Regions from separate parts of the Homo sapiens genome. Here all the other regions are linked to region 4. Evidence: promoter capture Hi-C in human tissues and cell types (Jung and others, 2019). All regions are on one chromosome and are shown on one strand. The core of a region is centred on a gene start or on the middle of the fragment in contact, and the rest is flanking DNA. Distances in the headings are between cores, read along the strand shown.

What was found. Contacts are between HindIII fragments. The study calls those that stand out against the background at their distance.
Region 1: a fragment that was not itself captured here is called in contact with the fragment with the promoter of EDNRB in region 4 in 7 of the 25 tissues and cell types used here (H1 embryonic stem cells, adrenal gland, hippocampus and 4 more).
Region 2: a fragment that was not itself captured here is called in contact with the fragment with the promoter of EDNRB in region 4 in 1 of the 25 tissues and cell types used here (adrenal gland).
Region 3: a contact is called between a fragment that was not itself captured here and the fragment with the promoter of EDNRB in region 4, in 3 of the 25 tissues and cell types used here (H1 embryonic stem cells, bladder and neural progenitor cells).

Annotation. Positions count from the first base shown.
Region 1 is chr13:77,960,370-77,963,379 of GRCh38, forward strand. It overlaps a transcript of EDNRB not described here. Among named protein-coding and RNA genes, the nearest start is that of LINC01069, 33 kb to the right of the region's middle. The HindIII fragment of the contact is 6,838 bases long and covers 1-3,010 here.
Region 2 is chr13:77,977,263-77,980,279 of GRCh38, forward strand. It overlaps LINC01069 (long intergenic non-protein coding RNA 1069), which reads right to left. Exons shown (of 3, transcript NR_108076.1): 3 at 2,504-3,017. Among named protein-coding and RNA genes, the nearest start is that of LINC01069, 16 kb to the right of the region's middle. The HindIII fragment of the contact is 5,052 bases long and covers 1-3,017 here.
Region 3 is chr13:77,859,007-77,861,975 of GRCh38, forward strand. The region is part of intron 6 of EDNRB-AS1 (EDNRB antisense RNA 1); the gene reads left to right. Among named protein-coding and RNA genes, the nearest start is that of EDNRB-AS1, 42 kb to the left of the region's middle. The HindIII fragment of the contact is 3,072 bases long and covers 28-2,969 here.
Region 4 is chr13:77,917,332-77,920,244 of GRCh38, forward strand. EDNRB (endothelin receptor type B) reads right to left here and starts at 1,500. Exons shown (of 7, transcript NM_001122659.3): 1 at 760-1,500. The coding sequence starts at 1,242. RefSeq lists promoters at 1,429-2,501, 1,491-1,605 and a cis regulatory region at 1,857-1,866. The HindIII fragment of the contact is 11,006 bases long and covers 1-2,913 here.

The DNA of each region.
Region 1 (3,010 bases), core at 233-2,732, 43 kb after region 4:
GGGGGCCAATATTCAACATTATTAAAGAAAAGAATTTTCAACCCCAGAATTTCATATCCAGCCAAACTAAGCTTCATAAGTGAAGGAGAAATAAAATCCTTTACAGACAAGCAAATTCGGAGAGATTTTGTCACACCAGGCCTGCCCTACAAGAGTTCCTGAAGGAAGCACTGAACATGGAAAGGAACAGCCAGCACCAGCCACTGCAAAAACATGCCAAATTGTAAAGACCATCGATGCTAGGAAGAAACTGCATCAACTAATGAGCAAAATAACCAGTTATCATCATAATTGGCAGGATCAAATTCGCACATAACAATATTAACCTTAAATGTAAATGGGCTAAATTCTCCAGTTAAAAGACACAGACTGGCAAATTCAATAAAGAGTCAAGAACCATCAGTGTGCTGTATTCAGGAGACCCATCTCACGTGCAGAGACACACATAGGCTCAAAATAAAGGGATGGAGGAAAATCTACCAAGCAAATGGAAAAAAAAAAAAAAAAAAGCAGGAGTTGCAATCCTAGTCTCTGATAAAACAGACTTTAAACCAACAAAGATCAAAAGAGACAAAGAAGGCCATTACATAATGGTAAAGGGATCAATTCAACAAGAAGAGTTAACTGTCCTAAATATATATGCACCCAGTACAGGAGCACCCAGATACATAAAGCAAGTCCTTAGAGACTAGAAAGAGACTTAGACTCCCACACAATAATAATGGGAGACTTTAACACCCCACTGTCAACATTAGACAGATCAACAAGACAGAAAGTTAACAAGGATACCCAGGAATTGAACTCAGCTCTGCACCAAGCAGACCTAATAGACATCTACAGAACTCTCCACCCCAAATCAAGAGAATATACTCTCTTCTCAGCACCACGTCGCACTTATTCCAAACTTATTAGGTCTGCACCAAGCAGACCTAATAGACATCTACAGAACTCTCCACCCCAAATCAACAGAATATACTTTCTTCTCAGCACCACGTCGCACATAGTTGGAAGTAAAGCACTCCTCGGCAAATGTAAAAGAACAGAAATAAGAACCAACAGTCTCTCAGACTACAGTGCAATCAAACTAGAACTCAGGATTAAGAAACTCACTCAAAACCACTCAACTACATGGAAACTGAACAACCCACTCCTGAATGACTACTGGGTACATAACGAAATGAAGGCAGAAATAAAGATGCTCTTTGAAACCAATGAGAACAAAGACACAACATACCAGAATCTCTGGGACATATTTAAAGCAGTGTGTAGAGGGAAATTTATAGCACTAAATGCCCACAGGAGAAAGCAGGAAAGATCTAAAATTGACACCCTAACATCACAATTAAAAGAACTAGAGAAACAAGAGCAAACACATTCAAAAGCTAGCAGAAGGCAAGAAATAACAAGATCAGTGCAGAACTGAAGGAGATAGAGACATGAAAAACCCTTCAAAAAATCAATGAATCCAGGAGCTGGTTTTTTGAAAAGGTCAACAAAATTGAAAGACTGCTATCAAGACTAATAAAGAAGACAAGAGAGAAGAATCAAATAGATGCAATAAAAAATGATAAAGGGGATATCACCACCAATCCCACAGAAATACAAACTACCATCAGAGAATACTATAAACACCTCTACGCAAATAAACTAGAAAATCTAGAAGAAATGGATAAATTCCTGGACACGTACACCCTCCTAAGACTAAACCAGGAAGAAGTTAAATCCCTGAATAGACCAATAACAGGCTCTGAAATTGAGGCAATAATTAATAGCCTACCAACCAAAAAACGTCCAGGACCAAATGGATTCACAGCCGAATTCTACCAGAGGTACAAGGAGGAGCTGGTACCATTCCTTCTGAAAATATTCCAATCAATAGAAAAAGACGGAATCCCCCCTAACTCATTTTATAAGGCCAGCATCATCCTGATACCAAAGCCTGGCAGAGACACAACAAAAAAAAGAGTATTGTAGACCAATATCCCTGATGAACTTTGATGCAAAAATCCTCAATAAAATACTGGCAAAGCGAATCCAGCAGCACATGAAAAACCTTATTGACCATGATCAAGTGGGCTTCATCCTGCTGGTTCAACACACACAAATCAATAAATGTAATCCAGCATATAAACAGAACCAAAGACAAAAACCACATGATTATCACAATAGATGCAGAAAAGGCCTTTGACAAAATTCAACAGCCCTTCATGCTAAAAACTCTCAACAAATTAGGTATTGATGGGACATATCTCAAAATCATAAGAGCTATTTATGACAAACTCACAGCCAGTATCATACTGAATGGGCAAAAAACTGGAAGCATTCCGTTTGAAAACTGGCACAAGAAAGGGATGCCCTCTCTCACCACTCCTATTCAACATAGTGTTGGAAGTTCTGGCCAGGGCAATCAGGCAGGAGAAAGAAATAAAGGGTATTCAATTAAGAAAAGAGGAAGTCAAATTGTCCCTGTTTGCAGATGACATGATTGTATATTTAGAAAACCCCATTGTCTCAACCCAAAATCTCCTTAAGCTGATAAACAACTTCAGCAAAGTCTCAGGATACAAAATCAATGTGCAAAAATCACAAGCATTCTTATACACCAATAACAGACAAACAGAGCCAAATCATGAGTGAACTCCCATTCACAATTGCTTCAAGGAGAATAAAATACCTAGGAATCCAACTTACAAGGGATGTGAAGGACCTCTTCAAGGAGAACTACAAACCACTGCTCAACGAAATAAAAGAGGACACAAACAAATGGAAGAACATTCCATGCTCATGGATAAGAATAATCAATATCGTGAAAATGTCCATACTGCCCAAGTAATTTATAGAGTCAATGCCATCCCCATCAACCTACCAATGACTTTCTTCACAGAATTGGAAAAAACTACTTTAAAGTTCATATGGAACCAAAAAAGAGCTCACATTGCCAAGTCAGTCCTAAGCCAAAAGAACAAAGCTGGAGGCATTATGCTACCTGACTTCAAAGTATACTACAAGG
Region 2 (3,017 bases), core at 305-2,804, 60 kb after region 4:
AGAGGAATATGCAGTATTTGTCCTTCTGTGACTTATCCCACTTACCATAACGTATTACAGATCCACCCATGTTATCATAAATGGTAAGATCTCCTTCATTTTATTTTATTTTTAAATTTAATTTTATTTTTTGAGATGGAGTTTCACTCTTGTCACCCAGGCTGGAGTGCAATGGCATGATCTCAGCTCACTGCAACCTCCGGCTCCCAGGTTCAAGTGATTCTCCTGCCTCAGCCTCCCAAATAGCTGGGATTACAGGCACCCACCATCACGCCTGGCTAATTTTTGTATTTTTAGTGGAGATGGAGTTTCACCATGTTGGTCAGGCTGGTCTCGAACTCCTGACCTTAGGTCATCTGCCCGCCTCAGACTCCCAAAGGGATCTCCTTCTTTTTAAGGGCTAAATGATATTCTATTATATATATATATATATATATATATATACACGTGTATATATATATATATATATACACGTGTATATATATATATACACGTGTATATATATATATATACATAAAATACACACATATATATATACATATATATATATATATATATATATATATATATATATATATATATGTGCCATCTTTTCTTTACCCATTCATCTGTGATGGACATTTGGGTTGTTTCCATATCTTGGTTATTGTGAATAATGCTGCAGTGAATATGACAGTGCAGATATGTCTTCAAGATCCTGATTTCAGTTGATACACACACACACACACACACACACACACACACATATCTCTATCTATCTATCTATCTATCTATCTATCTATCTATCTATCTATCTTTATCTCCAGAAGTTGGACTGCTGTATCATATGGTAATTCTATTTTTAGTTTTTTGAGAAACTGCCATACTGTTTTCCATAGCAGCAGTACAATTTTACATCCTATTAACAGTATATGAGGATTCTAATTTCTCCACAACCTCACCAACACTTGTTATCTTTTGTTTTCTGGACAATAGCCATTCTAACCAATGTGAGTTGATACCTGTTTGTGGTTTCAATTTGCATTTCCCTGGTGATTAATGATATTGAGCATGTTTTTATATTATCTGTTGGCATTTGTATGTCCTTTTGGGGGACATGTCTACTTGATTCCTTTTCCAATGTTCTAACCAAATTACTTATTTTTTGCTCTCGAGTTGCAGAAATCCTTTATATAGTTTGGATATTAACCCTTTATCAGATATATGGTTTGCAAATATCTTTTCCCATTCCATAGTTTGCCTTTTCACTCTGTTGATTATTTTCTTTGCTGTGCAGAAGTTTTAAAAAATTTGTTATAGTCTCACTACTATTTTTGCTATTGTTGCCTGTTCTTTTGGTGTCCTATCAAAGAAACAATTTTTGTCAAAACCCATGTTGAGACATTTTTTCCTTACATTTTCTTCTAGGTGTTGTATGGTGCCAAATTTTACATCAAATCTTTAATCAATTTTGGTTAATTTTTGTGTTTGGTAAAAGATAAGCATCCCATTTCATTCTTCTGCAGATGGATATCCAGTTTTGCCAACCCTATTTATTGAAAGACTACCCCTTCCCCCTTGTATTCTTGGCACTCTGTAGAAAATCAGTTGACCATACATATGTGGGCTTATTTCTGGGGTCTCTATTTTGTTTCACTGTTCTATGCTTTTATGCCCGTGCCATACTGTTTTGGTTACAGTAGCTTTGTAATACATATTGAAGTCAGGAAGTGCAATGCCTCCAGCTTTGTTCTTTTTGCTCAAGATTTCTTTGGATGTTTGGGGTCTTTCGGAGTTCCATATGAATTTTAGAGCTTTTTTTTTCTACTTCTGTAATAAACATCTTTGAGATTTTGACAGGGGTTTCATTGAATCTATAGATTATTTTGAGTCATATGGATGTTTTAACAATATTGATTCATCCAATCTATGAACACAGGATGTCTTTCTATTTATTTGTGCCTACTTTAACTTCTTTAATCAATGTTTTATAGTTTTCAGTGTACAAATCTTTCACCTCCATGGTTAGATGTATTCCAAAGTATTTTACTATGTTTGATGATATTGCAAATGGGATTGTCTTAATTTCCTTTTCATATAGGTCATTGTTGATAGTTACATTACTTTTTGGTATTGTGTTGTGTATTTATTAGTGCAACTTCTTATTAGTTGTCTTGTTAATATCTGTAGCCCAGCACCTAAAACAATGCCTGGTACATGATAGGCTCTTGATAAATAGTTGATGATTCATTAAGAAAATTAATACCTGCTGATTTATAAGGGGAAGAAATATGGTAATTTAATCCATGACCTTTATAGCAAAGAAAGTCATGAAAAATGAGATAGGTAATGAGGTTTAAGTACAGGAAAAGTGGTTCAAGAGGCTGAATTTTGGAACTGTGAGTTGAAATGTATTTTAGAATGAGTTAGAAGTAAAAGACCTGTAGATTAGAGTCCTTGATTGTCAAGAGTAAAGGGATCACATTCAAGGCTTGATAAGGATTGGTCCAGCTACATTTTTTTTCTTGAAACATTGAAATTTATTTTTTTCCATATGAAAATCCATTATTTTCTGTGCATCCTGAGGCACAAATAAAAAGGTGTATCTTTTATAATTTTGTTGAAATTTGAAAATACTATCTTTGGGGTTTTCTAATTTCTTGCGCAATTGTTTTTCCAAAAGTTAAGTGGGAAAAAGGGATTTAAGGAGGGAGGGAGAGAGAAAAGGAGGGAGGGAGAGAAGGAGAGATGGATTTTGCTTTTCTTCTTTGATCAGCAGAAAAAAATGTGACTGCTAGCAACAGCTTTTGGAGAGGGGAACAGGAATCTAGATGTGCAGAAGCCAGGAGGGCATATGTGGAAATAAATATCTTTCCTGCGAGTGTGGCAGAGAGGTGGGTATGATTGTTGTCCAAAAAATACTAGTAAGCAAGTGGCAGAGAAGCTGATAAACTGACTCAGCACACTCTGAGGTTTGGAATTGTTCTTTTAGAGAACTGATAACGGGAGGTGTTATAATAGCAGAGAAGGGGAAAAAA
Region 3 (2,969 bases), core at 314-2,813, 58 kb before region 4:
CAGGTCACTATTCAGAAATTATTCTGAAAAAAATCATTTACTGATCTGTTTCCTTAAAAACATCAGCCTCTACTTATCCTTCAGTCATCCTCATCAACTCCCTCCCCTTCTCACCGCCCCAAAGCAAATGAAAGTCTCAAAAAGCATGCTTGAATTCATTGAATGTGTACAAAGAATGTGTTCAAAGCATTCACATTGCTTTTGCTCAGATTTTTCCTCTCCTTCTTTGCATGTTCCTCACTCTCATGTCTTTGCTAGTTTTGCCTTCTTCCATTTCTCCAGTCTCCCCATGGGTGTAGCATCCCTGGATCCCCTTTAGTTAAGGGGTAAGCATTAAATCAAATTAGGTCAGTGCTACTCTCTATCTTTAGTATTTATGTTAAAGTGAACTAAATATGGCCTGAAAAAGCCTCTGTACTTCCATATTTGAGTCCTTTTGGACGAACCGTAACCTAAGTTAATAGGTAGACAAGACTGAAAACCTAACTTAGGCGTATGCTTCTGTAACAATAGCTGAGTCTCAGCCAATCCCAGCAGCCATACTTCAACCACGTGTACACTGCTGACTGTTCAAACTGTGTTCAAAGAAGGCAAATGCCAACCTGTAACCAATCCAGCTGTTTCTGTACCTCACTTCCGTTTTTCTGCACGTCACTTATTTTGTTTGTCTACAAATTTGCTCTGACCGTGAGGCATCCCTGGAGTCTTGCTCAATCTGCTGTGATTCTGGAGGCTGCCCGATTTGTGAATCATTTTTTTCCTTGCTCAATTAAACTCTGTTAAATTTAATTTGTCTAAAATTCTCTTTTAACGTTTGTATCCAGACACAGTGATGGATAAATAGAAAATCACTGGAACTGATTTATCCCACCTGGAAGAAGGCATCTGTTAGTTTTTGCCCTCATTCCTGTTTTTTTTCAAACCTTGGATTCTAAGCTTTACTCGCTAATCTGTGAGTAATTCTCAAAAAGTGCTAGGCTTTTTGATACACACAAGGTCTTTGAGCAGTAAAAGTTTGGTTTTGTGTGTCAAGATTCTAAGCTTTCCTCACTAATCTACGAACTACCTATATGCTTCCAATAAGTTGCCTTTTTGCCTAAGCTAGTTGGAGTCAGTTACTATTTCTTCCAGTCAATGACCCCAACTGGTCAACTTCTCATCTCCTTCCTTCCTGTTTTACTTCTCTTCCTTTTTCCTTCTCTATCAGCCTTTCCTCCCCCTTTCTTACTATTCTCATGTTTTTCTTCCTCTTTTTTGGAGGCTTTTAATAATGAAAGAAAAATTAAAAAGTTAAAAAAATGGAAAAATGAAAATATTTTAAGCGTATTTAATCACAACTACTTCTCTTTTCAAATTAAAATGGAGGGTTTCTTGACTATATATTGTGTACAGTTCCAAGTCTTATCTGAGTACAAATAAATACTATTATTAATAGCAAAAATAATAAGCAAAGCAACTTAATCCCCCCAAGAAATTATGCAGTGCCTCCAACAATTTTACAGTTTTGGCCCATTAAAACATATTTATGGCTTGTCTAAACTAATTAGATGATTTGATCCATGTGGTATTCATTTTCAAAGGATTCGCTGCCAGATTTATGTCTTACTACAGCAATTAACAAAGTTATTTTTGGAAGTAAGCATTTAATATCTTCTTGTAGCAGGCTGAAAGAATTTAAGTTTTGATGTCCAGACTTAGCCTATAATTAAAGGTAAACTTAAATATTTAACATAGTAGAAGAGGAGTAACAACTACAAAGTTTACTTGAAAATGAAGTGAGTCATTTCACTGAGTCATTTATCTTTTATGCTTGCATGCATAATCAACAGAAGTTTGTGTTTTGTACTCAATTCCTTTCTCAAGACAGCCAACAGCTGTTGCTTCCCTCAAGCTGTAAACTTCATCTTCCTGTTTTACCTCAGCTGTTTTGCCCAAACTGCCTTAGACATAATGGCAGTTGAAAATCAGAAGTTTTTGTAAGTCATAGCAGTTATTGTCAGTAATAACTGCTAGATGATATTAGGAATCAAAGCTGGGTCTGCTAACATCAGTGCAGTTAGTTCAGGTGGTGTTTCCAAACATGAAACATTTAGAAAAAGGAAAATGAGCCTAGCCTGGAAATCATGATTTTCAGGGAGAAATCCAAGGATTTTCTGTTCTGCGGGCAATGCAGCAGATTAAGATAGCTGGCATGGATCTGAATCGATAAAATTTCCCTTTTATGTTAGCAGACCTAATTTGTGTCATCTTAAGAGTTAACAATTGCATAGACTTTATTTCAGTTTTTAAAAATTGTTAGCGTAGTATTTATTCTCCTTGTAGTCGTTTCAATGTTTTATATACTTATTGGTCTGGTCGTGTGCTAAATATTTTTGGCTTAGAGTTAAAAAGTCGTAAAATGTAATTTTTTGAAAATTTAGAAGTGTGATATATAATTTAAATCGAATCTTGCACTTAGGACAGGTCTTATACCTCCTTGTAAATAAACCTCTTCCTTTTCTGACAGAAGTATTCATTGCTTTGGGGGTATTACAAATATTGTAGCAGAGATGACAAGAAGAAGTGATAGGCTCATAACTTCAGTTTTAAAACAGTGATTTGAACTGAAAACAAAGAAAACAATCTTGAATCCCAAGACACTTGATTTGTAAGAAGTAGGCTTTTTGATAGACATGAGGTCTCTCAGCAGTAAAAGTTTGTTTTCCAGTGTCAAGAGAAAATCCCTGGAGGAATCAGGAAATAAAATCAATAGGTTCAGGAATATTTTTGGAAGAGAGAAGATGAGGAGCCAGATAATTCTTCCTAGGATTGCTTATAGGAAGATAAGAACTCGGAAGGAATCCCACATTCAGCCCTTGCCCTTTTCCTTTCCCCTTGGCCAGATGATAAACGTCAGCTGATGCTAGTAGGCTAACTGACAGTGACAACCTGAATGCAGAGGAAATGTGGAAATCATGGTGGTTTATAAA
Region 4 (2,913 bases), core at 250-2,749:
TGTAGATATTTAATACAAAGTAGCTACAGTCCGTCACAGCAGGTGAACTGTGTTTTTCCTACTCACCAGTCTGGATCTCTTTTTTCCAGGCCATTTATTTCCTAAATACCTACTTTGTACCTGCTACTTTCAAAGTCTTCCAAAACAGTCCTTCCCAAAGTTAGTGGGCATATCAATCACATGAAGATCTTAAGATGCAGATTCTAACTTAGTAAGTCTGAGGTAGCCTTGCATTCCTAACAAACTCTCAGGTAATATTGATGCTGACTGTCCATGGACCACACACTTTTGACTAGAGGATGTACCCCATTAGGTGCACTTAGGGACTAGATCCTTCAGGACTAGTGGTTCTCAAACTTTACAGTTCATCATAATCACATAAAGGGCTTGTTAAAATACAAATTACTGTGCTCCACTCCAGAGTTTCTGATTCAGTAGGTCTGGGGTGAGGCCAGAAAAATCTTCATGTGCACCAAGTTCCCAAAGTGATACTAACATTGCTAGACTGGGGACTACGCTTGTCCTAAGCTTAGCAGAGGTCTACTGAAGACCTGAATGGAATTTTATTCCAATGGTTACTGACTTTTATGAGTGGACAGAACCAAATGGAATTTGGTTCCAAAGATTACTGACTTTTAGGAGGGGCAGAACCTTAAGAGGGAGCTAAAGGGAAGCTCCCTCTACAAGCTTTCTCATCTCCCCGTCTCCAACCAGGCCCCCTTCCTCAAGCCCACCATGATTTCAGCAGGCGCCCTTTACCTTGTAGACATTGATAGGGATGTCAATGACGATGTGCAGCAGGTCTCCCAGAGCCAAGCTGGCGATCAAGATATTGGGACCGTTTCGCATGCACTTGTTCTTGTAGATAATTCTCAGAAGTGTGGAGTTCCCGATGATCCCCAGCACGAACACAAGGCAGGACACAACCGTGTTGATGTATTTGAAAGTCTCCTTGATCTCGATGGGTCCTTGGCACGGGGGAGGGGAGATGGTGCGTGGCGGAGATCCTGCCGTCCTGTCTCCTTTAGGCACCTCCGCAGGTGCCAACGACCGCGCCAGACTGGCGTTGGAACCCTTGGGCCATAAGGTCTTAGTGGGTGGCGTCATTATCTCTGCGGTTTGCAAAAGCGGAGTGGCCCTGTCAGGCGGGAAGCCTCTCTCCTCTCCCCAGATCCGCGACAGGCCGCAGGCAAGAACCAGCGCAACCAGGGCGCGTCCGCACAGACTTGGAGGCGGCTGCATGCTGCTACCTGCTCCAGAAGGCGTCCGGTGGCCGCTCCGCAGTTTCAGAGCCTAGAGACAAGCAGAGGAAGGAAGACAGGACACTTGGGTCAGCTGCCCGAGCCAAGTCGCTGCAAACGCTAATACCGCCCGCAGCCTCTTCGCCAGTATCCACGCTCAAAAGTAACTCAAGTTTGCGCGCCAGTGGGAAACTTGGCGCTCATGACTCGCCAGCGCGGGTCGAAACTCCTTCCTGATGCCCTCTCAGCTGTTTTTCTTCCCCCGCGTGGCCAGGAGGGGTAAATAATATGCAGTGGGGCGGGGCGTTCTGGAAGGGGTGTGCCAGGGAGGGAATGATGGGGGTCCCAGGCAAAGCTCCGAACTCTTTCACGTAACGGGAGGAATACAGACACGTCTTAGTTAAGCGTGCGTGGGAACCGCGGAATTAAGGCACCTAGAGGCCAAGGGCTTGTGTCAAGCTCTGCATTTTGCCCCGCAGGGGAACCTCTATACCCCGCGATTGAACTCGAAAGACTCCTCCCGGCGGATGAAAGCCGCTACTCCCTGGCTGGCTGAGCTACAGCTCCCGCAGCGCGCCCAGGAGTGCGCCGGAGATTCGGAAACCCGCAGAGACTTCTCAAGTCAGCAGGAACTTGGAAACCGCTGTTCCCTCCAAACGGCTTCAAACACTCGCGCTCCTTCCTTTACCCAACCTAATTTTAATTTGCCCTCTCTATAGGCTTAATTTTTATTTTTTTAAAATCCCAAACTAGTAAGCCAAACCGAAGCCCCAGAATAAGGTTCAATCAATGATTTTAATTCAACACCAAGCCCGAATGTTTACCTCTCGGATCTGACAAACCAGATGCAGAGCGACGAATGGAGACCACCTTCCCGGGAGGCGGAACCCAGCTGGGTTCCAGCCTGCTCTGGGAGAGGAGCACGCCTCCCTTGAGCTGCAGGCGGGTCCGGCTCTGACGAAACGCTGCGAGAATGCCAGACAGTGTAGCCTCCACCGTTTGCTCGGGGTCTCTGCTGCCATCAGACAAGTACTTTTATTCATTCATCCCTTCCCATCAATCACCGCCAGACTCCTCCCGCGCCTTCCGACCCCGCTGCAACCTTTCCCCTTGGGCGATGCCTGGACAGCATCAGTAGTAGTTGCCCGAGGGAGGGGGGCAGTCCTCGTCCGGGGACAGGTCCCAAAAGGCTGTTTATTTGTTAGAGTTCTACGCTCTTCAAATGAACCCAAATCAAGGGCAAGTTATCACGCACCATGTGACACCCGGCAGCTCCAGACTAGAACAAGGCTCTGCACTGAACGTGATAATTGAACTTTTAATGCCAAGTGTCACTTTTCTTTCAGGTAAATGTTCCGCCGCTGTGATATTTAAGGTTGGTTTGTGGGCGCTGCTCTTTGCTCTGCTTCATTTTGCCCTGAAGTTTCATTTCAAGCCAACATTAACCCCAACACGGAACAGCTCGATCTTTTCTTCCCAGGCCCTCTCACTGCCCCGAGAGAGGATTACAAGTACTCCTCATTTTCCCCAGTACAGCTCTTCTCCTCTCTTCCTGCCACAGTATCGGTGTTAGGCAATCTCAGGCATTTTTATACTGTACCTATGACAGACTTGATGCTTATCGGAGACATGAAAATAATCAGAAAGCTGCCATGCAAATTCAACATGATAT